Linked DNA regions of Homo sapiens: regions 2, 3, 4 and 5 are each linked to region 1. Evidence: promoter capture Hi-C in human tissues and cell types (Jung and others, 2019). All regions are on one chromosome and are shown on one strand. The core of a region is centred on a gene start or on the middle of the fragment in contact, and the rest is flanking DNA. Distances in the headings are between cores, read along the strand shown.

Region 1 (2,734 bases), core at 8-2,507:
CATGCGCCTGTAGTCCCAGCTACTCCGGAGGCTGAGGCAGGAGAATTGCTTGAACCCAGGAGGCGGAGGTTGCGGTGAGCCGAGATCTCACCATTGCACTCCAGTCTGGCGACACAGTGAGACTCCTTTACAAAAAAAAAAAAAAAAAAAAAAAAAAAAGATTCCCTCAAATAAGTTGAGGTGGGGGGAGGTGTATTGTTACAATGCAAATCCTTTCCCATAAAATCCTTTAATAGCTCTCAGTGGCCTGCAGAATAAAACCCCAAATCCTTAACATGTCCCAGTTTGGTATTTTCCTACGCTTGGCCCTACCCGGGCCACCCCTTTCCAGGCTCTTTAATGGCGGAGCCTAGCTCTTTTCTGCCATGTGGCCTTACAGACTGGTTCCTGGGACAAGAATTGGCTACTTCTCCCTACCCAAGCTTTCGTTCGTTTTTTTATTCCTGGCCCCCACCACCTCCCCCCCATTTCTCTGCTCTCCTGTTAATTCCTTTGGAGCGATTACTATTTGTGAGTAGACATCCATTCGCGTGCATTCAGATCTATTATCCAAAAGACAGACGCTTATCCGTCTAGGTAGTCAGGCTCCAAGAGAGGAGCCCAGTCGGTCTGACTCCCGCAAACTCCCGGCACCGTGTCAGCCACATAGTAGGCGTCTACTGGAGACTTTGTTTAGATCAGTTAGTCAACGCAGGCAGCAGCTGAATCAGGAGAGAGTCCCCAACGCAAAGAAAGGGGCTCCTGAGACCCTTCGGGGCGCCGAGGCCCAGGTTTCGTCTCCCTCTGCTGCAGCAATGCCGTCGACTCAAAGGGGCTCGGGGCTGGGGAACTGGTTCTGGCAAACAGCACAACCTCGCCCGAATCCTGGTCCGCAGTAACTCGATCTTTCCCTTAGGCGGCGCTTCGGAGGGAAGGCGCCTAGTTCAGCGCGAGGCATCACGGGATTTGTAGTCTCCGTGGGCATATACCCACCGCGCTTGCGCACCGGTGAGGCGCGCACCGCCCCGCTCCACGCCCCTATCAGGATTCGGGTCCTCGTGAGGAGCAGTCCAGGCGACAGCGTTCCAACCTAATACGCCTCTCTCGCCCGCCGGGGACAAGACGGGCTGGGGAAAGAATCTGCTCTTCGGAGGCTATCGCAGTGCCTTGGAAGGCGGCAGGAATCCGCACACACCCGCCCCGGAAGTGAGCCGCTTCTGGCGCGGGGCATTGTGGGGGGCGTAGTCTCTTTCTCAGGCGGTCCTTCGCGGCGTCCCCGGGGCCCACTCCCGAGCGCAGGCGGGCAGCCAGGCGGGCGGCGCGGCGCGGGCCGGCAGGAAGCGTATTCTGGGCACGGGGCGCCGGGCGGGCCGGCTGCGCCGAGCGGCAGTGGTGGGATACCACCCAAGGCCTCGCGCGGCGCCGCCCGTCGAGGGGCGGGCGGCGGCGTAGCCACTGGGCCGTCGAAGAGCGCAGGAGGCCGGTGGGCCGGGCCGGGCCGCGCGGCGCAGCCATGCCTGGCTTTACGTGCTGCGTGCCAGGCTGCTACAACAACTCGCACCGGGACAAGGCGCTGCACTTCTACACGTTTCCAAAGGACGCTGAGTTGCGGCGCCTCTGGCTCAAGAACGTGTCGCGTGCCGGCGTCAGTGGGTGCTTCTCCACCTTCCAGCCCACCACAGGCCACCGTCTCTGCAGCGTTCACTTCCAGGGCGGCCGCAAGACCTACACGGTACGCGTCCCCACCATCTTCCCGCTGCGCGGCGTCAATGAGCGCAAAGTAGCGCGCAGACCCGCTGGGGCCGCGGCCGCCCGCCGCAGGCAGCAGCAGCAACAGCAGCAGCAGCAGCAACAGCAGCAACAGCAGCAGCAGCAGCAACAGCAGCAGCAGCAGCAGCAGCAGCAGCAGTCCTCACCCTCTGCCTCCACTGCCCAGACTGCCCAGCTGCAGCCGAACCTGGTATCTGCTTCCGCGGCCGTGCTTCTCACCCTTCAGGCCACTGTAGACAGCAGTCAGGCTCCGGGATCCGTACAGCCGGCGCCCATCACTCCCACTGGAGAAGACGTGAAGCCCATCGATCTCACAGTGCAAGTGGAGTTTGCAGCCGCAGAGGGCGCAGCCGCTGCGGCCGCCGCGTCGGAGTTACAGGCTGCTACCGCAGGGCTGGAGGCTGCCGAGTGCCCTATGGGCCCCCAGTTGGTGGTGGTAGGGGAAGAGGGCTTCCCTGATACTGGCTCCGACCATTCGTACTCCTTGTCGTCAGGCACCACGGAGGAGGAGCTCCTGCGCAAGCTGAATGAGCAGCGGGACATCCTGGCTCTGATGGAAGTGAAGATGAAAGAGATGAAAGGCAGCATTCGCCACCTGCGTCTCACTGAGGCCAAGCTGCGCGAAGAACTGCGTGAGAAGGATCGGCTGCTTGCCATGGCTGTCATCCGCAAGAAGCACGGAATGTGAACTGGTGCCCCGGCAGCCTGCTGGACTCCCAGACCCCATCCAGCCAGGGGACCGCAGGCCATTGTTGAACTCCTCTATACTCCTGGGCACTGGTTGACAGTACTGAGGCTTAAGGCAGCTGGACTCTCTTGCTGGTGACCTGGCATCCTCAATTGTTTCCTCCTGAAGTGGAAGCTGGGGCCTTAGACTCTGCCCTGGTGACACCAGCAATTATGACTTTGTCTACCCTTCCTCCCCAGTTATTGTTGCAGATTCTGGTTAAGCAGAGGCTTCAGAACCACTGAACTTGAAACTTAC
Region 2 (2,700 bases), core at 1-2,500, 170 kb after region 1:
AAATTTATCTGATTGTCCAATTTTTAAATAATTCATTGGTTTGAACTGTAATGGAGCTCAGACCGCCCACATTGTAAATGGTTGTTATGACTCAATCTTCAGGTTCTTCTTTTTTTTGTCTTCCTTGCAATTTCTTTGTTGAAAAAATCACGTCCTTGTCCGTTAGAGTTTTCCATGTTGTAGAGTTTTCTGATTGCATCTCATGGTGTCATTTAACATGTTCCTGTGTCCTTGTGTTTTCTATAAACTGGTAGTTAAGGCAAGCTTTTATTTATTTAAAATTTTTTTTTCTAATTCTTTACTGTTAATATTTTTTGTAGAGATGGAGTGCTGCTGTGTTGCCCAGGCTGGTCTCGAACTCTTGGGCTCAAGCAATCCTCCCACCTCAGCCTCCCAAAGTGCTGGGATTACAGCCATGAGCCACCATGGCCAGCTGAGGGGAAGCTTTTAATACTGTGGATTTCTAGGCCAGTACCCTAAAACTTTAGACTGGTGTGGGTGCTGGGGATCACTTTTTTTTTTTTAAGACCGAGTCTCGCTCTGTCACCCAGGCTGGAGTGCAATGGCGCGATCTCAGCTCACTGCAAGCTCCGCCTCCCGGGTTCATGCCATTTTCCTGCCTCAGCTTCCCGCGTAGCTGGGACTACAGGCACCCACCACCACACCTGGCTAATTTTTTTTTTTTTTTTGTATTTTTTAGTAGAGACGGAGTTTCACCGTGTTAGCCAGGATGGTCTCGATCTCCTGACCTCGTGATCTCCCCGCCTTGGCCTCCCAAAGTGCTGGGATTACAGGTGTGAGCCACTGCGCCTGGCCGGGATCACTCTTTTTTAAGAGCCCCAGTTGAGTCTATTTGTTTCAGCTTTGGGAACTGCCAAACTATCCAGGCCATCCAGGAACCACAAATCTGCTTCAGTCACGCCACGGATGAGAGACTCTGGGGGTTAATGGAGACTCTCACAGGGAACTTTCTGGGAGCCCAGGGCCTGTGCCTCCTTCCTTTAACCCAAGTTAGGAAAACCTATCAGGACCTTTCCTGGCCTCCATGGTATGCGTGTTGGGGGGAGGAGCAACAGTCTTGCTGCTGGGACCCCTAAGGACAAGTGAGTTGCTGACAGTGCCGCCTTTTTCTGGGCTGCTGATACAGGCAGACTTGGGACAAACGTCATGGTGTTTCTTCTCTGCTGACTGCTCCTCCATCCCCCAGTCCCCAGCACCAGCTGTCCCAGCTGCAGAGAGAGACAGTCCCCCTGGTAACAGCCAGCACCTCACTACCATGGCACGCAGCAGTCAGACGGATCTTTTTAGCATCTATATCAGATTACTTCCCTACCTTATTCAGATTCCTCCATGACTTCCCAATATACTTAAAACAAGATCCACTGTCCTTACCGTGGCTGGCACGGCCCACTATGGTCTGGCCCATGCTTACTTGCTTACTTCCTTACTTCTCCAACCACCTTTTTCTTTTCTTTCTTTTTTTTTTTGAGACAAGTCTCACTCTTGTCCCTCAGGCTTGAGTGCAATGGCTCGATCTCGGCTCACTGCAGCCTTCGCCTCCCGGGTTCAAATGATTCTCCTGCCTCTGCCTCCCAAGTAGCTGGGATTAAGGCGCCTGCCACCACACCCAGCTAATTTTTGTATTTTTTAGTAGAGACAGGGTTTCACCATGTTGGCCAGGCTAGTCTCGAACTCCTGACCTCAGGTGATCCACTAGCCTCAGCCTCCCAAATTGCTGGAATTACAGGAGTGAGCCACTGCACCTGGCCTCCAACCATCTTATTTTTTTTTCCTTCCTTCCTTCCTTCCTTCCTTCCTTCCTTCCTTCCTTCCTTCCTTCCTTCCTTCCTTCCATCTTTCCTTCCTTCCTTCCTTCCTTTCTTTCTTTCTGACAGAGTCTCACTCGTTGCCTAGGCTGGAGTGCAGTGGCAGGATCATGGCTCGTTGCAGCCTATACCTCCTAGGCTCAAGCAATCCTCCTGCCTCAGCCTCCTGAGTAGCTAGGGACCACAGGCATTCACCACCACACCCAGCTGATTTTTTGATTTTTTGTAGAAAGGGCACCTCCCTATGTTGCCAGGCTGGTCTCAAACTCCTGGGCTCAAGTGACCCTCCCTCCTTGGCCTCCCAGCCACCACATCTTTCAATCTCCTCTATCTTTCTTCCCTGGCCACACTGGCCTTTCTGCTGGCCCTCAAATTGGTCAGTCTTGTAGGCCGGGTGTGTTGGCTCACACCTGTAATCCTAGCACCCTGGGAGGCCAACGCTGGCGGATTACCTGAGGTCTGCAGTTTAAGACCAGCCTGGCAAACATAGTGAAACCCCATCTCTACTAAAAACACAAAAATTAGCCGAGTGTAGTGGCATGTGCCTCTAGTCCCAGCTACTCAGGAGGCTGAGGCAGGAGAATCACTTGAACCTGAGAGGCAGAGGTTGCAACGAGCCAAGGTCGCACCATTGTACGCCATCCTGGGAGACAAAGTGAGACCCCACCTCAAAAAAAGAAAAAATGGATCAGTCTCATTCTTACCATTATACTTGAAATTTCCTCCAGTAATGCTCTCCCTTCTACTCCTCACGATTCCCTCACATCTCAGCCACAATGTCATCATCTCAGAGAAGCCTTCCCTAACCACCTGGTGTAACACAGCACACCTCATTACTGTATTCTCTTATCCAGTTTCATTTTTCTTTATACCA
Region 3 (2,740 bases), core at 188-2,687, 190 kb after region 1:
GCATCCTGGATTATAATCCTTTTCTCTCATTCTCAAATAAACTCAACATGTTTGGAGGTATTTTTCTTTAATGTCTTTTTTTTTTAAGGTTAACAGGATATTATGTCCATGTAACTGAAGTTAAGGTTATTATTTTTTATTTTTTGAGATGGAATCTCACTCTGTTGCCCAGGCTGGAGGGCAGTGGTGCGATCTTGGCTAACTGCAACCTCTGCCTCCCTGGTTTGAGTGATTCTCCTGCTTCAGCCTCCCGAGTAGCTGGGATTGCAGGTGCACACCACCATGCCTGGCTAATTTTTTTATTTTTAGTAGAGACAGGGTTTCATCATGTTGGCCAGGCTGGTCTGGAACTCCTGATCTCAGGTGATCCTCCTGCCTTGGCCTCCCAAAGTGCTGGGATTATAGGCATGAGCCACCTCGCCCAGCCAAGGTTACTGTCTAAGAAATTGAGCGTAATAGAGGAGACCAGCCCTTAAAAGGAATGGTAGAAGAGATTGGAAATGAGTGACTAAAGTGGTGATGTGGGTGTGATCTCAGGGTGGGGTGAGTGGTTGTGGCAGTAACTGGGAAAGGCATGGGGGCTGCCTAGTTTTTCTCAGAGGAGCCTCCTTAGAGGCAGGGTGTGTCAGGCACCTCTGACTGAGTGCCAGAGGAAGTTGCCAGACCAACCACCCTACAAGAGGCTGTCCTCTTGGCTACCACAGTGGTAAGTATTCAGTCACACCTTACTAAGCAGCCTCTAAAGGTCATGTACCTGGCTCAGTGCTAGAAATCTGGCAGTGAACTAAGCAGCCACACTCCTGTTCTTGTAGAGCTTGTTGTCCTGGTGGTCTCCAGGAGGAGCTGAGGATTGAACAAGAAACTACAGCAGTCAGTGTGGACACATGGAGTGTAACTGAGCTGCAGAGAAATGTAGGGTGTTTGGAAAGCATGGGACCAGGGACCTGAATTTGATTTTCTGTAGGGACGTATCTTCACAAAGGGGGCATTCAAGGACAAGGGGACCTTAGCATGGGCATGCATGACTGAGTTGGAGGAGTATTCCAGACAGAACTGCAAGTGGGCAGGCCCCAGGGAAGCAGACAGTTTGGTGTGGGAGACTTTAAAGGAAGGCCAGGGTGGCCGGGCACAGTGGCTCACACCTGTAATCCCAGCTCTTTGGAAGGCCAAAGTGGGTGGATCACCTGAGGTCAGGAGTTAGCTGGGTGTGGTGGTGGGTGCCTGTAATCCCAGCTACTCGGGAGGCTGAGGCAGGAGGCTGAACCTGGGAGGTGGAGGTTGCAGTGAGCTAAGATTGCGCCACTGCACTCCAGCCTGGGCAACAGAGTGAGACTCCATCTCAAAAAAAAAAAAAAAAAAAAAAAGGGAATGCCAGGGTGGCCAGGGCCGAGAGGGAGGGTGAGAGAGACACAGGTGAGGGTGAGGCTGGAGAGGTGGGTAGGGACTGATCATGCAGGGCCTTGTGGGCCATTAGAAAGGTTTAGGATTTTTCCTAAAGTCAGTGGGAAGCCATTGAAAGGTATAAACGGGGGAGTGGTATTATCAGAGTTGCCTTTTTAGGATCCCATGCTGGCAGAATGGATAGGAAGGGGCAAGTGTAGATTTTGGGAGACACATTTGGGGGCTGTGCTAAAGTCCTGGCAACAGATGAGCGGAGGGTTTCTGGTGCGCAGTTGTGGCCATTGGCATGTAGTAAAGCATGTGGGTTAGTTATATTTTGAAGGTTATTTCAATAGAAGTCAGTGATGGATTGAATGTGGGGAATGTGGGTTAAGAATGAGTAATTGGGAGACTGGAGATGCTATTAATGAAATGGGAAAGATTTTCTTTCTACATATTGGACTGGTTAACATGTTCTCTTCCTTTAGACCTTGGATCAGAGATTATTTCTTTTTAAAATTATTTTTATTTAAAAATTAAAAAAAAATTTTTTTTGAGACAGGGTCTTGCTCTGTCACCCAGGTTGGAGTGCAGTGGCATGATCATGGCTCACTGCAGCCTCAACCTCCCAGGCCCAAGTGATCCTCCAACTTCATCCTCCCAAGTAGCTGAGACTACAGGTGCTAATTTTTTTTTTTTTTTTTTTTTTTATATAGAGTCTTGCTGTGTCACCCAGGCTGGAGTGCAGTGGCACAATGTCAGCTCACTTCATCTCCTGGGTTCAAGTGATTCTCTTGCCTCAGCCTCCTGAGTAGCTGGGATTACAGGCGCATGCCACCACGTCTGGCTAATTTTTGTATTTTTAGTAGAGATGGGGTTTCACCATATTGGCCAGGCTAGTCTTGAACTCCTGACCTCGAGTGATCCACCCACCTCGTCCTCCCAAAGCACTAGGATTACAGACATGAACCACCGTGCCCAGCCCAATTTTTGCATTTTTTGTAGAGATGGGGTTTCACCATGTTGCCCAGGCTGATCTTGAACTCCTGAGTTCAAGCAATCTGTCCACCTTGGCCTCCCAAAGTGTTGGGATTATAGGCGTGAGGCACCTTGCCTGGCCTAGTTTTATTTTTATTTTCAAACAGGGTCTCACTGTCACCCAGGCTGGAGTGCAGTGGTATGATATCAGCTCAGCTCGGCAACCTCTGCCTCCCAGGCTCTAGTGATCTCACCTCAGCCTCCCTAGGAGCTGGTACTACAGGCATGCACTACCACTCCTGGCTAATTTTTATGTTTCTGTAGAGATGAGGTCTTGCCATGTTACCCAGGCTAATCTCCAACTCCAAGCTGATCTCCCATC
Region 4 (2,700 bases), core at 122-2,621, 250 kb before region 1:
GCTACTTGGGAGGCTGAGGCGGGAGAATCGCTTGAACCCGGGAGGTGGAGGTTGCAGTAAGCTGAGATGGCACCATTGCACTCCAGCCTGGATGACAGAGTGAGACTCTGTCTCAAAAAAAAAAAAAAAAAAAAAAATGCTGGACTGGGTGGCTCACACAAATGCTGTGATTACAGGCGTGAGCCACCGTAATCCCAGCACTTTGGGAGGCCGAGGCGGGCAGATCACTTGAGGTCAGGAGTTTGAGACTAGCCTAGCCAACATGATGAAACCCCATCTCTACGAAAAATACAAAAATTAGCTAGTCGTGGTGATGCGTGCCTGTAATCCCAGCTACTCAGGAGGCTGAGGCTGAGAATTGCTTGAACACAGGAGGCAGAGATTGCAGTGAGCCAAGATCTCACCACTGCACTCCAGCCTGGGTGACAGAGCGAGACTCTGTCTCAAAAAATAAATGAAAATTAATGTCAGAGAAGTGAGAGGTACAGTTGTGATTAAATAGATGAGTGCTTTTTCAGATAAAGGCTGCTTCCGTTCCCAGTCACTGTGAAAGAAATGGTCACTATTATTTTTCTGCTTCTCAGCCCAAGTTATTCTCCCAATTCAACTCCTCCTCATTCTTTATTGTAGTCTACAACTTTCCTGGTACTAGTTCACTGATACTTTGCTTTGATGTATTTTAAGCTCTCAGATAAGATGATGGCGTATATGTTTTCAGGAATAGCAGAGTAAAATGGTTATTTTGTTTAACTTTTAAACCTAGCTTTTACTCTAAAAGAGTTAATAACTTTTATTCGTTTTGGCTAGTGTCCTGCATCTAGTAAAAGTTACTTAGCTTTTCCTTTCATCCTCAGGAAAAACTGATTACTTTTTTTGGGGGGGGGCAGTAAGGGCACAGAGTCTTGCGCTGTCACTCAGACTGGAATGCAGTGGTGTGATGATAGCTTACTGCAGCCTGGGCTCAGGCGATCCTCCCGCCTCAGTCCCGAGTAGCTGGGACTACAGATGGATGCCATCATACCTAGCTAATTTTTTTTTTAATTTTTAATGGAGACAAGGTCTCACTATGTTGCTCAGGCTGGTCTTGAACTCCTGGGCTCAAACGATTCTCTTGGCTCTGCCTCCCCAAGTACTGGGATTATATGTGTGAGCCACTGTGCCCGACCTGATGACTTATAATTGCTTTTTTTCCCCTCCTTGTCCTAATGTCATTTAACATTCTGTATAGTGAGAATACCAGACTAAGCTTTTCAGTCAACATTTTTCTAATGTAAAGATCTATCGACTGGACGCAGTGGCTCACACCTGTAAACCCAGCACTTTGGGAGGATGAGGCGGGCACATCACCTGAGGTCAGGAGTTTGAGACCAGCCTGGCCAACATAGTGAAACCCTGTCTCTACTAAAAATACAAAAATTTGCTGGGCATAGTGGTGTACGCCTGTGATCCCAGCTGCTCAGGAGGCTGAGGCAGGAGAATTGCTTGAACCCTGGAGGCAGAGGTTGCAGTGGCCGGGATTGTGCCACTGCGCTCCAGCCTGGGTGGCAGAGCAAGAATCTGTCTAAAAAAATAAATAAGGCCAGGCACAGTGGCTCATGCCTGTAATCCCAGTAATTTAGGAGGCTGAGGTGGGAGGATCACCAGAGCTCAGAAGTTTGAGACCATCCTGACCAGTATGGTGAAACCCTGTCTCTACTAAAAATATAAAAATTAGCCGGCATGGTGGCATGCGCCTGTAGTCCCAGCCACTCGGGAGGCTGAGACATTAGAATTATTTGAGCCCAGGAGGCGGAAGTCGCAGTGAGCCAAGATCGTGCCACTGCACTGCAGCCTGGGTGACAGAGTGAGACTCCGTCTCAAAAACAACAACATCAAAAAAAGATACTTACAGAGGCCAGGCGTTGGTGACTGGCTCAACGTCAGTAATCTCAGCACTTTGGGAGGCCGAGGTGGGTGGATCACTTGAGCTCAGGAGTTTGAGACCAGCCTGGCCAACATGGTGAAACCCCGTCTCTACTAAAAATACAAAAATTAGCGGGGCACAGTGGCATGTGCCTGTAGTCCCAGCTACTTAGGAGGCTGAGGCAGGAGAATCGGTTGAACCTGGAGGCAGGGGTTGCAGTGAGCCGAGATCGCGCCACTGCATTCCAGCCTGGGTGACAGAGTGAAACTCCATCTGGAAAAAAAAAATTTATATATATATGTATAAATGTTTAATATATATTTTATATTTATATATTTGTATATCTTTTTTATATTTTAATATATGGTTTTTAATATATATTTTATACATATAAAGAGAAAGGTGCAAGGTATCTTCTGTTCTCTTAAAATTTTTTACAATTTCAACTTTTATTTTAGATTCGGGGGTACATGTCCAAGTTTTTTTGTGTACATGGGTATATTGTGTGATTATGAGGTTTGGGGGTACAATTGTTGCTCATCACCCAGGTAATGAGCATAGTACCCAATGATTAGTTTTGCAGCCCTTACCCCGTTTTCTCCCTCCCCCTCCTAATCCCTAAGGCCTATTGTTATGTTTATGTCCATGTGTACCCAGTGTGTAGCTTCCACTTGTAAGTGAGAACATGAGATACTTGGTTTTCTGTTCCTGCCTTAATTCGCTTAGGATAATGACCTCCAGCTGCATCTGTGTTGCTGTAAAGGACATTATTTCATTCTTTTTTATGGCTGTGCGTT
Region 5 (2,700 bases), core at 143-2,642, 230 kb before region 1:
TTCTCGAGCCTCACTCAGCCTTCCAAGTAGCTGGGATTAGAGGCACACCCCACCACACTCAGCTATATATGTTTTATTTTATTTTAATTATTATTATTTTTTTGAGACAGAGGCTCGCTCTGTTGCCCTGGCTGGAGGGAGTACAGTGGCCCAATCTCAGCTCACTGCAACCTCCACCTCCCAGGTTCAAGCAATTCTTCTGCCTCGGCCTCCTGAGTAGCTGGGATTACAGGCATGTGCCACCACACCTGGCTAATTTTTGTATTTTTAATAGAAACGGGGTTTTGCCGTGTTGGCCAGGCTTGTCTCCATCTCCTGACTTCAAGTGATCTGCCCGCCTCGGCCTCCCAAAATGCTGGGATTACAGGCCTGAGCCACCACGCCTGGCCCCTATTTTACTCTTGTTTAGGTAATGTCATTCACAAGATTTTTGTTTGTTTTTTATTTTTTGTTTTTGAGACCGAGTCTCACTCTGTCGCCCAGGCTGGAATGCAGGGGCACTTTCTCAGCTCGCTGCAACCTCCACCTCCAGGGTTCAAGTTCTTTTCGTGCCTCAGCCTCCCAAGTAGCTGGGATTACAGGTGCACACCACTACGCCTGGCTAATTTTTGTATTTTTAGTAGAGATGGGGTTTTGCCATGTTAGCCAGGCTGGTCTTGAACTCCTGGCCTCAACTGATCCACCAGCCTTGGCCTCCCAAAGTGCTGGGATTACAGGCGTGAGCTACCGTGCCCGGCCCATTCACAAGATATAAGAGCCAAAAACTATGAATTGGCTGATTTGTTTTCTGCTTTCTATTATATATTCAATTTGGTTGGCATTTATTGAGTACTTACCATCCTGGGCACAGTGCTAAAGAGTAAAAACCGTGGCTGGGCGTGGTGGCTCACGCCTGTAGTCCCAGCACTTTGGGAGGCCGAGGCGGACAGATCACGAGGTCAGAAGTTCAAGACCAGCCTGGCCAACATAGTGAAACCCCGTATCTGCTAAAAATACAGAAAATTAGCCAGGTGTGGTGGTGGGCACCTGTAATCCCAACTACTCCGGAGGCTGAAGCAGGAGAATCACTTAAACCTGGGAGGCAGAGGTTGCAGTGAGCCAAGATCACGCCATTGCACTCCAGCCTGGGCGACAGTGCGAGACTCCGACTCAAAAAAAAAAAAAAAGTAAAAACCGGTTGGGCGCAGTGGCTCACACCTGTAATCCCAGCACTTTGGGAGGCCGAGGCAGGCGGATCACGAGGTCAGGAAATCGAGACCATCCTGGCTAACATGGTGAAACCCCGTCTCTACTAAAAATACAAAAAATTAGCCGGGCATGGTGGTGGGCGCCTGTAGTCCCAGCTACTCGGGAGGCTGAGGCAGGAGAATGGCGTGAACCTGGGAGGCGGAGCTTGCAGTGAGCGGAGATCGTGCCACTGCACCCTAGCCTGGGCAACAGAGCGAGACTCCGTCTCAAAAAAAAAATTAAAAAAAAAAAAACGACTTGTTAGATGTGGTTCTTATTCTCAGGGAATTCCTGATCTCATTGTCAGGAGAGAGGTGAATGTCAAGTTGATGGTATGACATGGGCAGTTTTGTGCAGTGTCTACAAACACGGCCATTGCAGTCTGGATCTAAGTTCTGAGTTTGGCTTCAAAAAACAAGGTCAAAAACCCTTGACAGGGTGGGGAAAATGGGGAATTGCTGTTGAGTGGGTATAAAGTTTCAGTTATGCAAGATGAGTAAGTTCTAGAGATCTGCTACACAACATAGTTCCTGTATTAATCGTATAGCATTATGCACTTTGAATTATGTTGAGGATGGATCTCATGATAAATATTATCACCAAAAACAAAATACAAGGAAATTTTGGAGGTGTATTTAGTGTTTTTTTTTTTCTTTTTTGAGACGGAGTTTCGTTCTTGTTGCCCAGGCTGCACAGTACAATGGCGCAATCTTGGCTCACCGCAACCTCCACCTCCCGGGTCAAACGATTCTCCTGCCTCAGCCTCCCAAGTAGCCAGGATTACATACAGGCATGCACCATCACACCTGGCTAATTTTGTATTTTTACTTAGGACGGGGTTTCTCCATGTTGTTCAGGGTGGTCTCGTACTCCCGACCTCAGGTGATCCACACACCTCAGCCTCCCAAAGTGCTGGGATTATAGGCGTGAGCCACCACGTGCTTAATAAAGCTACCTTAATAAAGCTTTTTACAAAACATTGGCAGACCCGGGCACAGTGGCTCAGTCACATGTATAATCCCAGCACTTTGGGAGGCTTAGGTGGGAGGATTGCTTCAGCCCAGGAGTTCAAGGCCAGTCTGGAAATGTGGCAAGACCCCATAATTGCAGAAAATTAAGCTAATTCATATATGCATCATCTCACATCCTTGTCATTTTTTGTGATGAGAACACTTAAAAATCTGCTCTCAGTTATTTTCAGGTATACGTTATTATTAACTGTAATATTCATGTTGTATAATAGATCTCTTGAACTTATTCCCACTGAAATTATATGTCCTTTACCAGTGTCTTCCCCACTACATGTGTAAGATTTAAATTAGTTTTGTTAGTAATTCTTTAATATCATCAGATATCCAGAGTTGAAATTTCTAATTGTCTTGTGTCACATCTTTTTCACCATTTATTGGTTTGAATCAGGATCCAAAGAAGATTCATGCATTGTGATTGATTACTGTCTCTTTAAGACTCTTT

Evidence for each region. Contacts are between HindIII fragments. The study calls those that stand out against the background at their distance.
Region 2: a contact is called between a fragment that was not itself captured here and the fragment with the promoter of THAP11 in region 1, in 1 of the 25 tissues and cell types used here (heart right ventricle).
Region 3: a contact is called between a fragment that was not itself captured here and the fragment with the promoter of THAP11 in region 1, in 12 of the 25 tissues and cell types used here (IMR-90 fibroblasts, adrenal gland, bladder and 9 more).
Region 4: a fragment that was not itself captured here is called in contact with the fragment with the promoter of THAP11 in region 1 in 7 of the 25 tissues and cell types used here (IMR-90 fibroblasts, dorsolateral prefrontal cortex, lymphoblastoid cells and 4 more).
Region 5: a fragment that was not itself captured here is called in contact with the fragment with the promoter of THAP11 in region 1 in 9 of the 25 tissues and cell types used here (adrenal gland, dorsolateral prefrontal cortex, hippocampus and 6 more).

Annotation. Positions count from the first base shown.
Region 1 is chr16:67,841,063-67,843,796 of GRCh38, forward strand. It overlaps THAP11 (THAP domain containing 11), which reads left to right and starts at 1,258. Exons shown (of 1, transcript NM_020457.3): 1 at 1,258-2,734. The coding sequence starts at 1,493. The coding sequence ends at 2,437. The region is part of intron 1 of CENPT (centromere protein T); the gene reads right to left. RefSeq lists enhancers at 972-1,021, 1,474-2,220, 1,932-2,091, 2,532-2,581 and a silencer at 1,272-1,451. The HindIII fragment of the contact is 20,232 bases long and covers 1-2,734 here.
Region 2 is chr16:68,008,261-68,010,960 of GRCh38, forward strand. No RefSeq gene overlaps it. Among named protein-coding and RNA genes, the nearest start is that of DPEP2NB, 6.3 kb to the right of the region's middle. The HindIII fragment of the contact is 3,801 bases long and covers 1-2,700 here.
Region 3 is chr16:68,031,568-68,034,307 of GRCh38, forward strand. All of the region lies in intron 2 of DUS2 (dihydrouridine synthase 2), which reads left to right. Among named protein-coding and RNA genes, the nearest start is that of DUS2, 9.7 kb to the left of the region's middle. The HindIII fragment of the contact is 8,004 bases long and covers 1-2,740 here.
Region 4 is chr16:67,590,847-67,593,546 of GRCh38, forward strand. The region is part of intron 2 of CTCF (CCCTC-binding factor); the gene reads left to right. Among named protein-coding and RNA genes, the nearest start is that of CTCF, 30 kb to the left of the region's middle. The HindIII fragment of the contact is 6,285 bases long and covers 1-2,700 here.
Region 5 is chr16:67,606,868-67,609,567 of GRCh38, forward strand. All of the region lies in intron 2 of CTCF (CCCTC-binding factor), which reads left to right. Among named protein-coding and RNA genes, the nearest start is that of CARMIL2, 37 kb to the right of the region's middle. The HindIII fragment of the contact is 5,706 bases long and covers 1-2,700 here.